3 separate regions of the Homo sapiens genome follow, and all the other regions are linked to region 3. Evidence: promoter capture Hi-C in 16 types of primary human blood cells and fetal thymus (Javierre and others, 2016). All regions are on one chromosome and are shown on one strand. The core of a region is centred on a gene start or on the middle of the fragment in contact, and the rest is flanking DNA. Distances in the headings are between cores, read along the strand shown. Region 1 overlaps SORCS1 (sortilin related VPS10 domain containing receptor 1). Region 2 overlaps ABLIM1 (actin binding LIM protein 1). Region 3 holds the start of DUSP5 (dual specificity phosphatase 5).

Region 1 (3,809 bases), core at 338-2,837, 3.6 Mb before region 3:
TTCCTGACATAGGGAAAATGGACTTCAGAGCATAATTTCATCTAGATATATCAGACTTACAATGTTCTCTCACTTTCTCCTCTCTTAATTCCATTTCAATATTCTTTATCTGACTCCTCTATTTGATTGAAGAGCGCAAATCGTATTAAACAGAATCATTATATAATCATTTAATAACAAATGTTATTAAAAAGAATCATCTGCTTAATAACTCAGTGCAAGGGACACAGGGAGTCGGGAGGAAGGAGAAAGTCTATCTCACACATGCCTTGGAACCATGACATCCACTGCATTGCTACCCCTATAGAAACTATAAGGACTCAATAAAAACAATAGGAAACTATAAACTCTGTCGGTATTAATGCTAAGGGTCCAGTGCCCCAAAAGGCAAAACCAGGTAAGCAAGCTGACACCTATCCTCCAACTATTACAAATTCAATCTGAACAATGCTTATTTCTTTGCTATGTTGCCTGCATTTCCAGAAAAGCCCTCTCTAGGGTCTGACCTCATATAATTCACGCACCTTATTCCCATAAGGGAAATCTAAGAAATTGCTTTCCATCGTGCTGCATCTCATACCAAGTTGAGAAATCCCCTCTGATCTGCTGAACTTCTGAAGTCCCAGAAGTAGAAAAACATTAAGAAATATAAGAAAGGTCAAAAATCTGAAAATGCCACTTGTAAATGGACAGTCTTATTGAGCAGACAGGTCTCCTCAGGTGGTGAACAAAGCTTACATTAGAGCTTAGGAAAGAATGAAAGGGATAAGTTTCTTTCAGCACTTTAATTTTGAGCCAAGGACAAAGTTATGAATTTCAGAGGCGGGTTCCAGGTGACATACGCTAAACACACAACTACCACTGAGCACTAACATAGAACCTCAACAGAGTAAGAAATGACAGGGTTGCCTTGCTAGGGATGTGGGAGATAAGAGCAGCTGACTTCTCAACATGAAGACTACAGCAGACTCTGGCACCTGGATAGATCTTCTGTCATCCCCTGAAGGGCTTCCAACAATAAACAAACAACACAAATAGACAAAGAAAAAACAAAAGCCCGTTGATAATAAAGTCAAAACTTTGATACCATCAAATAACGAAACCAGTCAAAGACATTTTGGGGATTTTTTTTATTAGGCTTCTTTTAAGGGTAGCTTTAGGTTCACAGCAAATTTAAGTGAAAGTACAGAGAGTTCCCATATGACTCCTGTCCCCCTCCCTTGTACACACACAGCCTCCCCTGCTATCAACATCTACCCTAGAGTGGTACACTTGTTGCAACTGATGAACCAACACTGACCTATTATTATCGCCCAAATCCGCAGTTTACGTTAGGGTTCATCCTAGACTTATATATTCTACAAGTCTGGACTAATGTATAATAACAATGTGTCCACCATTTTAGTATCATATAGAATAGTTTCGCTACCCTGGAAGTCCTCTGTGTTTGATCTATTCATCCCTCCCTTCCTGCAACCCATGACAACCATGCAGCCTTTTCTTTTTTTTTTTTTTTTGACATGGAGTCTCGCTCTGTCCCCAGGCTGGAGTGTGGTGGCGCAATCTCAGCTCACTGGAACCTCCACCTCCCGGGTTCAAGCAATTTCCCTGCTTCAGCCCCCCGAGTAGCTGGGACTATAGGCGCACACGCCACCACACCCAGCTAATTTTTGTACTTTTAGTAGAGACGGGGTTTCACGATGTTGGCCAGGATGGTCTCGATCTCTTGACCTCGTGATCCGCCCGCCTCAGCATCCCAAAGTGCTGGGATTACAGGCGTGAGCCACCAGGTCCGGCCAACCATGGACTTTCTTACCGTCTCCGTAGTTTTATCTTTTCCAGAATGTCATGTATTTGGAGTCATAGATAATGCAGCCCTTTCAGATTGGCTCTTTTGCTTAGTAATAAGCATTTAATTTTCCTCTATGTCTTTTTATGGCTTAATAGCTCATTTCTTTTTAGCTGAATAATATTCCATTGTATGGATGTACCAAAATCCATCCACTTACCAAAGGACATCTTAGATGAATTCAGGTTTTGAATGAACTTTGTGTGAATATATAAGTTTTCATCAATTCAGTTGGGTAAAGGCAGCTTGATTGTTGGATCTTACAGTAAGATTATGTTTAGTTTTATAAGAAACTGCGAAACTGTTTTCCAATGTGGCTGAACCACTCTGCATTTCCACCAGTAATGAGAATGAGAGTTGCTGTTGCTCCACGGCCTCACCAGCATTTGGTGGTGTCAGTGTCTTGGATTTTAGCCATCCTAATAAGTGTTAGTGGCTATCATTGTTTTCATTTGCAATTCTCTTACATGGTGTTGAACATCTTTCCCCATGTTTATTTGTCATCTGCATATCTTCTTCGGCCAGTTATCTGTTCAGATCTTTTGCCCGTTTTTGTTTGCTTGCATGTTTGTTTGTGTTTGATTTTTTAAAGAAAGCTTTTTTTATTATTGAGTTGTAATAGTGCTTGTATAGTGTGGATAACAGTTCTCTATCAGATAGGTCTTTTGCAAATATTTTCCCCAATCTGTGGACTGTCTTCTCATTCTTTTGATAAATGGCTTTAAAATAATAATCTGGCTGGGCGCAGTGGCTCATGCCTGTAATTCCAGCACTTTGGGAGGCCAAGGGCAGATCATCTGAGGTCGGGAGTTCGAGACCAGCCTGACCAACATGGAGAAACCCCATCTCTACTAAAAATATAAAATTAGTCGGGCGTGGAGGCACATGCCTGTAATCCCAGCTACTTGAGAGGCTGAGACAGGATAATCGCTTGAACCCGGGAGGTGGAGGTTGCAGTGAGCCGAAATCGTGCCACTGTATTCCAGCCTGGACAATAAGAGCAAAACTCCATCTCAAAAAAAAAAAAAAAACTACCTTTTAATTAAAAACAATTTGCTTTAGTGAGAAATGCATGATAATGATAGTGTCTGAGGAACTGCTCAGTGATTGAAAGGAACATTTTATTGTATTAGATAAATGATATGGTAAAAATAAAGCAAAGCAAAATTAAAACATGCAAATAAAATTTTGATAATTTTTAATATTATGAAAATTCCACAGTTATCGATCTATCTATCTATCTATCTATCTATCTATCTATCTATCTATCTATCTAATTTGCATTGGGCAGGAGCTACTCCAAAACATATGGAGGCAAAAGGCAAAAGAGGAAATTGAAAAGAAAGGAAGCGTAAGAACAAGAGGATAGGTGGTATGGAAGGACTTTGTCAAAAATAATTGTCCACCATCCTCACTTTCTATTTTTACAGATGTTGGTGCTGCTGCTAGTGACAGCCCTGAGAAACAGATGAACAGGGATTCCCAAGTCTTTTTTTTTTTCAATTTTTACATTTAACTGCATGGATTTTTTTTTTTTTTTATGTTAAGGCAACCTGATTGCAGTGTGAATTAATGCTTTTCATCTTGACAAGAATGGACAAGCAAGATGTATTCCTTGTGTAACTTTCATAAGTATCTCAGGTTTATATGTTTTCATTCTGTTTTCAACAAACTTCAGATGTTCTGATCTATGCAAACTGACAATTCTTTTCCTCACTCACAAGATATATTTACATTAAAGAAACACATACTTTCTAAACCATATTTACTTCAAAAATTATTTTAAAAATAGTACTTTTATATGCTATATTATATATCATATCTTATGTACTTAAAAATCATTTTGTAATGATTGAGTATTTGCAAATTAAAATATCAAAGCTCTGGCAGTATTGCTCATTTGGAGAAGAGGAAGACTCACAATTCTGCATAAATGATTGTCTTCTCTATTGTTTGTTTT
Region 2 (3,956 bases), core at 39-2,538, 4.0 Mb after region 3:
AAAGTCTTTACAGTATGATTCGATTAATAACTGGGTTTTTAGGAAAACTATTTTCAATATAAAGGCCAGAATCTCTAGATTTCTTTTACTGCATATCAAAGGTGGAAAGAGAGGCAATTGTCAAGCTCTTTCAACCTAGAGCCGCAATAAAACATGAATAACATCTAAACATTTTGTTTCCTTATTTTCATTTATTGGGTATTTCTTAAAGAAAAAAAAATCTCATAATTTACAGTAATAGCTAAATCTACTCATTCCCACGTGCCACTTCCACCACCAAATCCCCCAAACAGGACTCAAATGTAAATTTCACAGAGCTCTACAAACCACAGACAAAACAAAACAACCCCAAAGTCTGAAAACCACAGTCTCCTTTCAATCTTGCGGGTAGCAGCCTAAAAAAACATAAGCCTTGTTTAAAAGGTCAACGCACTACACTTCTCAGTGAAATAAATAACCAGCCTTTCCTGCCCTTCAGTCTAGTTCTGTATCGATGAACAAAAGCTCCTGTCGTTTCTTTTGTATCATCAGGAAAACAAAAAGTTTACATAAATGTATGTCAGGGCAATAAAAGTGACTTCTGTCGCCAGCATCCAGCCACCACATTTGGAGGATCCGAGCGGCCTCCGACCTCACGAAGGAAGCCAGAAATCTCACATCTGCCACGCAAAGCAAAGGACATAGGTCACCTTGTGCAATGTCCGCTTTACCTCAGGCCAGGGTTCCTTTTCTTCTAATTCTGTTCCTTGGCTGTGCTGAGCAGAGAACTCCTCCAGGCTTCAAGTTCAGAACACGGCCAAGAGGCTTTGTAGATGCCAGACCTCAGCCCGACAGACTGAGGCTCCCACCTGCCTGGGTTACATATCAGGCTTCTCTCCGAAGCTCGGCTAAGGCAACGTGCATCCCTCTAGAGACGCACTCCGGAAACCAGCCCCGTGTGCGGCGGGCAGGCACGCTCTCTCACGCCTCCTCTCCTCGCTTTACTTACTAGTTCAACACACCAGCAACCACAATGGGCCAGTCCATGTTCCCAAAAAAGGAGGGGGAGTAGATTTACTTTCTTTCTTTTTTTAAATGCAGGTAGGAAAGTACCATTTCTTTGCATTCACTCACTATTGTCTGCATGTGAAACCGACAGTGATTGTCCCTGAGGCATAAGCTTGTACTGAAACGAGATTCTTAGGCTTTTTGAGTTTCTTTCTCGGATTTGAGATGATGGAAAGGTGCCTAGCTGAGCACAGCCATCACACAGCCTGCAGCCTCCTCGCAAGTCCCTGCTTTTGAGGTACATGTAAGGAACCCCTTATGCAAAAGTATAACAAAACTGAGTTCAACTTTTTATTCCCTTTTGTTACTTCAGAATTTCCATATTATTCTGCAGTACTGTCTGAGACAAATATGATTGGAAAACCTCTTATCAAGCTTTCTTGATTCATATTTTTGGTACATTTTGTATTGTGTGTTTTTAATTGTAGCAGAAAATTACTGGCTAGCTACTGGCTATGTTGCAGGCATTTTATACACACAGCCTCATTTTCAACGAAACCATCCCTGCAGAAATCTCAGGTGAGCCAGTGACTGAGGGGAAGCTGCAGGCTCTCTATGCATGTGAACAGAGAGGAGGAACTGGAAGTTTCTCCAGTGATGGCACAGCCCTTTTAATGTACTCTTTCTTAGGATGATGGAAAGATTTCTGTAACAACTCTTGTCTTTTTTTTTTTTTTTTTTGAGATGGGATCTCTGTCACCCATGCTAGAGTGCAGTGGCACGATCATAGCGCAATCAGCTCACTGCAACCTCCAACTCCTGGGTCCAAGCGATTGTCCCACCTCAGCCTCCTGAGTAGCTGGGATTACAGGTGTGAGCCACCATGCCTGGCTAATTTTTAAAGTTTTTTTTTTTTTTTGAGACGGAGTCTCGCTCTGTTGCCCACGCTAGAGTGCAGTGGCGTGATCTTGGCTCACTGTAACCTCCGCCTCCCAGTTTCAAGCAATTCTCCTGCCTCAGCCTCCTGAGTAGCTGGGACTACAGGTATGCACCACCACACCCAGCTAATTTTTGTATTTTTAGTAGAGATGGGGTTTCACCACATTGGCCAGGATGGTCTCGATCTCTTGACCTTGTGATCCGCCCGCCTCAGCCTCCCAAAGTGCTGGGATTACAGGCGTGAGCCACTGCGCCCGGCAATTTTTAAATTTTTTGTGGAGACAGGATCTCACTATGTTGCCCAGGCTGGTCTTGAATTCCTCACCTCAAGTGATCCTCCTGCCTCAGCCTCCCAAAGTGCTGCAATTATAGGTGTGAGCCACCCTGCCCTGCCACGTTTGTCATTTTTAAGAAGACTAGGATGATTTACGAAATTTTTTAGGGAGATTATTTGCCCACAAAGATCAGGAAATGAAAAGACCCTTTTATATAGACATGTGGAATCTCTCTAAGCTGGTTTGGAAGAAGTCCCAAGCAGTGCTGAGAAAATGTAAGGTTTTAGCAACAAAGCCGTGCTTCTAAAATGAAGAGGAGACTATTGGCTTATACATCATAATAATGACAGGGGTCTCACTAAATTTCTAGTGCATTTTTCTTCTGAGGAGTCAGAAACCTCCATCAATGTGTCCTCACCACACCCTTATAGGGCCAGATCCTCAAAGTGGCATCTGTGGACTTCCCTGTACCAGAATCACCCAGGGCAGGGCTGCATGTTCACATGCAGATTCCCAGGCCTCCTGAATCAGAATGTCTGGGGTGAGGCCTGAGAATCCATACTTCATTATTTTTTAAAAGCATGAATAACTTCATTTTTATTGTGGTAAGAACACAACATGAGATGTACTGTCTTCAATTTTTAAGTGCACAATACAGTATTGTTAATGATAGGCACCATGTTGTGCTGGGAATCCACACTTCAAACAAGATATGCAGGTGATTGTTAGGCATAGTGGTTTTAGAACCTCAGCCTTAGATGGTAAGACCATTTGGGGTTAAGGATGGTACCTTTTACCTCTGTAACCCCTGCACCTCACCTCATGTTTAAGATATTAGCATGCAATGTCTGTCAGAGGAGTGAAGGTGTCCCCCTTTACAAAGGTAAAATGGGACACTTACCCAGGCTTCTAGTCACATGGCAAGAAGTAACTTGAGCGTCAGAATTAGGCTCACTACCCACGAGTCTTCATCCTCTTTTTTTTTTTTTTTTTGAGACAGAGTCTCATTCTGTCGCAAGGCTGGAGTGCAGTGGTGCGATACTGGCTCACTGCAACCTCTGCCTCCCGGGTTCAAGCGATTCTCCTGCCTCAGCCTCCCAAGTAGCTGGGACTACAGGCACATGCCACCATGCCCAGCTAATTTCTGTATTTTTAGTAGAGATGGGGTTTCACCGTGGTGGCCAGGATGGTCTCGATCTCTTGAACTCATGATCGCCTGCCTCAACCTCCCAAAGTGCCGGGATTACAGGTGTGAGCCACTGCGCCCGGCCTCTTCATCCTCTTTCTACTCTCCTATATTTGGATGATCAGTTTCTCTTTTTGGATTTTATTTATTTAAGCATCTCTATGTCTTCTGGGATGGGGTCAAAGAGGATGGGTCATCTTCAGATTTACTGAGCAAATTTCCAAATTCGTGAGTTTCCAGATGAAAAGAGTGAAGAACGCCGTGTGGAGTCAAGAGGTTCAAGTCACCTCCCTAGTTGGGCAGCCCTTGGTGAGCAACCTGAGCCACCTTTCCCATTGGCATGCCTCCTGTGCACATGCATGCACACGATTTGGGGAAAGAACGTGAAGAGGAAATAACCCGAAGGTGGGCTGGGCGTGGTGGCTCACACCTGTATTTCCAGCACTTTGGGAGGCTGAGGCGGGTGGATCACCTGAGGTCAGGAGTTCAAGACCAGCCTTGCCAATATGGTGAAACCCTGTCTCTACTAAAAATACAAAAATTAGCCAGGCATGGTTGCATGCACCTGT
Region 3 (4,332 bases), core at 1,800-4,299:
GTGACCAACTCTAGCTTATTAATATGAATAAACTTCACCCACTCCTCCTTTTCCTGCTACCCTCACCCCAGACCTGCTCCTGTAGAGTCCCTATCTAAAGGTTAAAAACTATGGTGTTGGCCAGGGGTAGTGGCTCATGGGTCATACCTGTAATCCCAGCACTTTGGGAGGCCAAGGTGGGCGGAGCACAAGGTCAGGAGTTCGAGACCAGCCTGATCAACATGGTGAAACCCCGTCTCTACTAAAAATACAAAAATTAGCTGGGCGTAGTGGTGTGTGCCTGCAATCCCAGCTACTCAGGAGGTTGAGGCAGAAGAATTGCTTGAACCTGGGAGCCGAGATCACGCCACTGCACTCCCGCCTGGGCGACAGAGCGAGACTCTGTCCTAAAAAAAGAAAAAGAAAAGAAAAATGCTAACCGGGTGTGGTGGCTCAATCCCAGCACTTTAGGAGGCTGAGGTGGGAGGATTACTTGAGGCCAGGAGTTTGAGCCCACCCTGGCCGACATAGTGAGAACAAGCTTTTTTTTTTTGAGACCGAGTTTCGCTTTTGTTGCCCAGGCTGGAGTGCAATGGCGCGATCTCGGCTCACTGCAACCTCCGCCTCCCAGGTTCAAGCGATTCTCCTGCCTCAGCCTCCCAAGTAGCTGAGATTATAGGCATGCGCCACCATGCTCGGCTAATTTTTTTGTATTGTTAGTAGAGACGGGGTTTCTCCATGTTGGTCAGGCTGGTCTCGAACTCCCGACCTCAGGTGATCCGCCTGCCTCCGCCTCCCAAAGTGCTAGGATTACAGGCGTGAGCCACCGCGCCCGGCCCGAGAACCTATCTAAAAAAAAAAAATCCGGAAACAAAAAAATCTTTGGTGTCCCTCTCCAGTTCTCTCTCCCCATCTCACCCCTCCCAGCATCTCACTTCCTCAATGTGCTCCCATTCCTATGGCCTCCCCATAGCTGCTGTCACTGCCAAGTTCTGGCAAGTCCATATCAGCTCATGTCTAGATTACCCATGAAATCCTCCCATCCATCCCCCAGACTCCGGACCCCACCACCACTCTCAAATAAAGCACCGATCCCGCACAGAGCCGCCTCAGCGATGTTCCCAAATGCTATCCGGATCTTGTCACTGAGTAAGATCCCTCGTTGGGGACTGCCCGGCCAAAGACTAAGACCCAAATGACTCAAAACAGCACAAGGCCCTCTGTTGCCTGACCCTGCTTAATCTGCTAATAAATACCAGAAGGGCCTTAGTCTCCCACATACCTCCAGTACGCACCATGCTGGGGGGGTTGCGTTTTTTGTTTTCTTTACCCCAAGCAGTTTCCTCTGCCTGGAATCTCCCCTCCTGCTTCGCAGCCTGGCTTACAATTCATTCCTCGGAGTTGGCCTCAGCTCTCCTCTCCTCGGGAGGCCTTCTCCAGCCCACGCCCCACCCTGCCACACCCCTACTGGGCGCTCTTCCCCACGGACTACAGGCCTTCCCCTTCCCTCTGGGCTGGGGGCAGCTGGGGCTGAGTATAAGTCTTACTCACGTTGGTGCCGCCAGCCCCAAAACAAAGCCTGGCCCACGTGGGTGCTCCGCGTATGTGTGTGGCTCTAGGCGGAGATGCCGGGGGTGGAAAGAGCCGGTAACAGAAACAGAACGTGCTAGAGGAAGAGCAGCCTGCAGGGAAGGCTGGCACAGATAACCACAAAAAGAAAGAAGGCCCCCGCATCACGTCTTCACCAAGACCCCACTGGCAAGGCGAGGACAGCGCCTTTGGGTGGATGCATCTGTGACCCAGAGGCAATGCTGGCTGTCCTGGTGTCTGATTTGATTGCATCTGATTTCAAAATTTGATCTCTGCTTCCTTCTGAAAACCTCATTCCCTTATGTCAGTTGTCAACAAGCCCTTGTCTAGTGCGGGCAGACTGTTTTCCATCAAGCAGTCCCAGCCAGGCTAACAATAAAATGGTTGGCAGTGAGCTTGGGGGCAGAAACCTGTTTCCATCCATGTGTCCCCGCAGCTAGCAAAGCCCTGGCACACGGCTGACCCTCAATAAATGCTTGCTGAATGGGTGAATTGTGTCTGCTTCCCCAGGAATAGGGGTGGGAGGCCTGAAGCCCCTGGGGACCGGTGGGGGCAGACAGCCTGAGATTAAACTTGATCCATAGATAATCCCCCAAATCCAGAAGCCACCTGGACAACAGTTGGCTGAACTGAGCTCCATCGTGGGATACATGCTGATGGTACTGCTGAGTTCACCAAGGGTCTCCCCGGGACCAGAAAACAGCTCCTCAAAATACAACTTATTATTCTAATCATTATTGGAGAGTGACAGAGAAAAGAGCGTCAATCCTTTGAGGGCAGAATCCATTTAGGAAGATTAAATGGCTATTCTCACCGCCGACCCCCAACCCCCGTTTTTACTTTTACAAACTTTATTATGAAAAATATCAAACATACAGAAAAGTGGAGAAAACAGTATAACGAATCCGGCCACCCATCACCCAGCCTCAGCGATGACCAACCCGCGCCTGACCTCTCCAGTCATCTATACCCCACCCCTCGAGGCAAATCTCCGACGTCCTCTCCTTACACGCGCAGACCTCGGTAGCGACGGGAATCCGTTCCGGACTCCTCTGGGGCCCTGGCCGGCTCCCTCGGCCCTGCTCAGCGCGGCGCGGGCGGGTTCTCAGCCCACGTCCGTGAAGCTGAAGGCCGGATCGTGCGGCGCCGCCCCGCCCCCCACGGCGCTTCCTCCTCGGTCCGCACCGCGAGGGTCACCGCGGCCCCGGAGCGCCTGGGACACTCGACCGGCAGCCGCGGGTGATGCGCGAGTGAGTCCCTCAGCGAAGCGCGGAAGAGAGAACGAAGAGGCGCCTTCCACTTCCTCTCGCTCTAACGCCGGCACCCGCCCCGCGCGTCCCTCGCCCCCGCTGCCCCGCCCCCTGCAGGGCGTGGCCACGGCCCGAGGGGCGGGGAAACACCCATATTTGGCCTTATATGGGCAGCCGCGTCACGGACGGCACTCATTCACATAAAACGCTGCGCGGCCGGCGGAATCCCCGGCTTCTAGGGCGGCGAGCGGCCGGGCTGGCTATCGAGCGAGCGGGGCGGGAACGCGGAGTTGCGCCGCCGCTCGGGCGCCGGGCTCCGTCGCGGCCGCAGCCCCGCGGGTCGCCCTCCCGTGCCTCGCCCGCGGACACCCTGGCCGTGGACACCCTGGCCGTGGGCACCCGCGGGGCGCGCGGCGCGGGGCCGCTGGCCGGCGGCGGCGGCGGCATGAAGGTCACGTCGCTCGACGGGCGCCAGCTGCGCAAGATGCTCCGCAAGGAGGCGGCGGCGCGCTGCGTGGTGCTCGACTGCCGGCCCTATCTGGCCTTCGCTGCCTCGAACGTGCGCGGCTCGCTCAACGTCAACCTCAACTCGGTGGTGCTGCGGCGGGCCCGGGGCGGCGCGGTGTCGGCGCGCTACGTGCTGCCCGACGAGGCGGCGCGCGCGCGGCTCCTGCAGGAGGGCGGCGGCGGCGTCGCGGCCGTGGTGGTGCTGGACCAGGGCAGCCGCCACTGGCAGAAGCTGCGAGAGGAGAGCGCCGCGCGTGTCGTCCTCACCTCGCTACTCGCTTGCCTACCCGCCGGCCCGCGGGTCTACTTCCTCAAAGGTGAGCGCTCGGGGTCCCTGCCACGCTCGCCCCTCCGGCGCCCCCGGGTCCCCTCCCTGCGCCGGGGCGCCCTCCTACACCCTGGGACCGGGAGAGTCACCACCTGCAGGAGTCTGCACCCTGTGGCTTGTTGTGCGCTTGGGAGGGCACTGCAAATGTCAGCACTCAGAGCTCCCCCTCTTCCCCACCCGCGTTCCTCGAAAGCGCCCGGCAGCGGGTCTGCCCGGTGGTCTGGGTGGAGTTGGTTATGCTGCGGGGGCTGCTGCTGTTTAGCAGTTTGGGGGCCGTCGGCTCGTGCCGGGCACGAGCCCCCTTTCCAGACGCGAGCTTCGCCGCTGTCGCTGGGGTCAGGGCTCGGGGCCTTCCTGATAGACTGATCTGGCGGGATCAGCAGGTCGCGATCCACTCTCCCTTGGTGTGGCGCCGTGGTGCCCCCCTTCCTCCCGCCTAGCCAGCTGTGGTCTTCACCGACCCCCTTGCCTTTTTGACCTGGCGAGTCCCTTCCCTTTCCATTTCATTTTATTGCTTTTTATTGTTTCCCTCCGGCCTCTTCTCCCCTCCTAGGTCTTTTCTCTAGCTCAGTTTGGAGCTCACATCCTTTCCACCCTTTTCACCTCCTCCTTCCTCCGCCCCAGGATTATCCCTGGGACCCATCCTGAGCTGAGCCTACAGCCAGCCAGCCACGAAAT

The links. Contacts are between HindIII fragments. The CHiCAGO score rates a contact against its expected background, and 5 or more counts as called.
Region 1: a fragment that was not itself captured here is called in contact with the fragment with the promoter of DUSP5 in region 3 in 1 of 17 cell types (M2 macrophages); the score reaches 5.3 in M2 macrophages.
Region 2: a fragment that was not itself captured here is called in contact with the fragment with the promoter of DUSP5 in region 3 in 1 of 17 cell types (total B cells); the score reaches 5.6 in total B cells.

What each region holds. Positions count from the first base shown.
Region 1 is chr10:106,921,391-106,925,199 of GRCh38, forward strand. All of the region lies in intron 2 of SORCS1 (sortilin related VPS10 domain containing receptor 1), which reads right to left. Among named protein-coding and RNA genes, the nearest start is that of SORCS1, 240 kb to the right of the region's middle. The HindIII fragment of the contact is 1,712 bases long and covers 732-2,443 here.
Region 2 is chr10:114,525,950-114,529,905 of GRCh38, forward strand. The region is part of intron 6 of ABLIM1 (actin binding LIM protein 1); the gene reads right to left. Among named protein-coding and RNA genes, the nearest start is that of AFAP1L2, 120 kb to the left of the region's middle. RefSeq lists enhancers at 680-799, 970-1,199. The HindIII fragment of the contact is 263 bases long and covers 1,158-1,420 here.
Region 3 is chr10:110,494,858-110,499,189 of GRCh38, forward strand. DUSP5 (dual specificity phosphatase 5) reads left to right here and starts at 3,050. Exons shown (of 4, transcript NM_004419.4): 1 at 3,050-3,643. The coding sequence starts at 3,265. DUSP5-DT (DUSP5 divergent transcript) reads right to left here and starts at 1,625. Exons shown (of 2, transcript NR_187547.1): 1 at 1,531-1,625. RefSeq lists an enhancer at 1,572-2,095 and silencers at 2,577-3,106, 3,117-3,256, 3,327-3,386, 3,507-3,776. The HindIII fragment of the contact is 7,811 bases long and covers 519-4,332 here.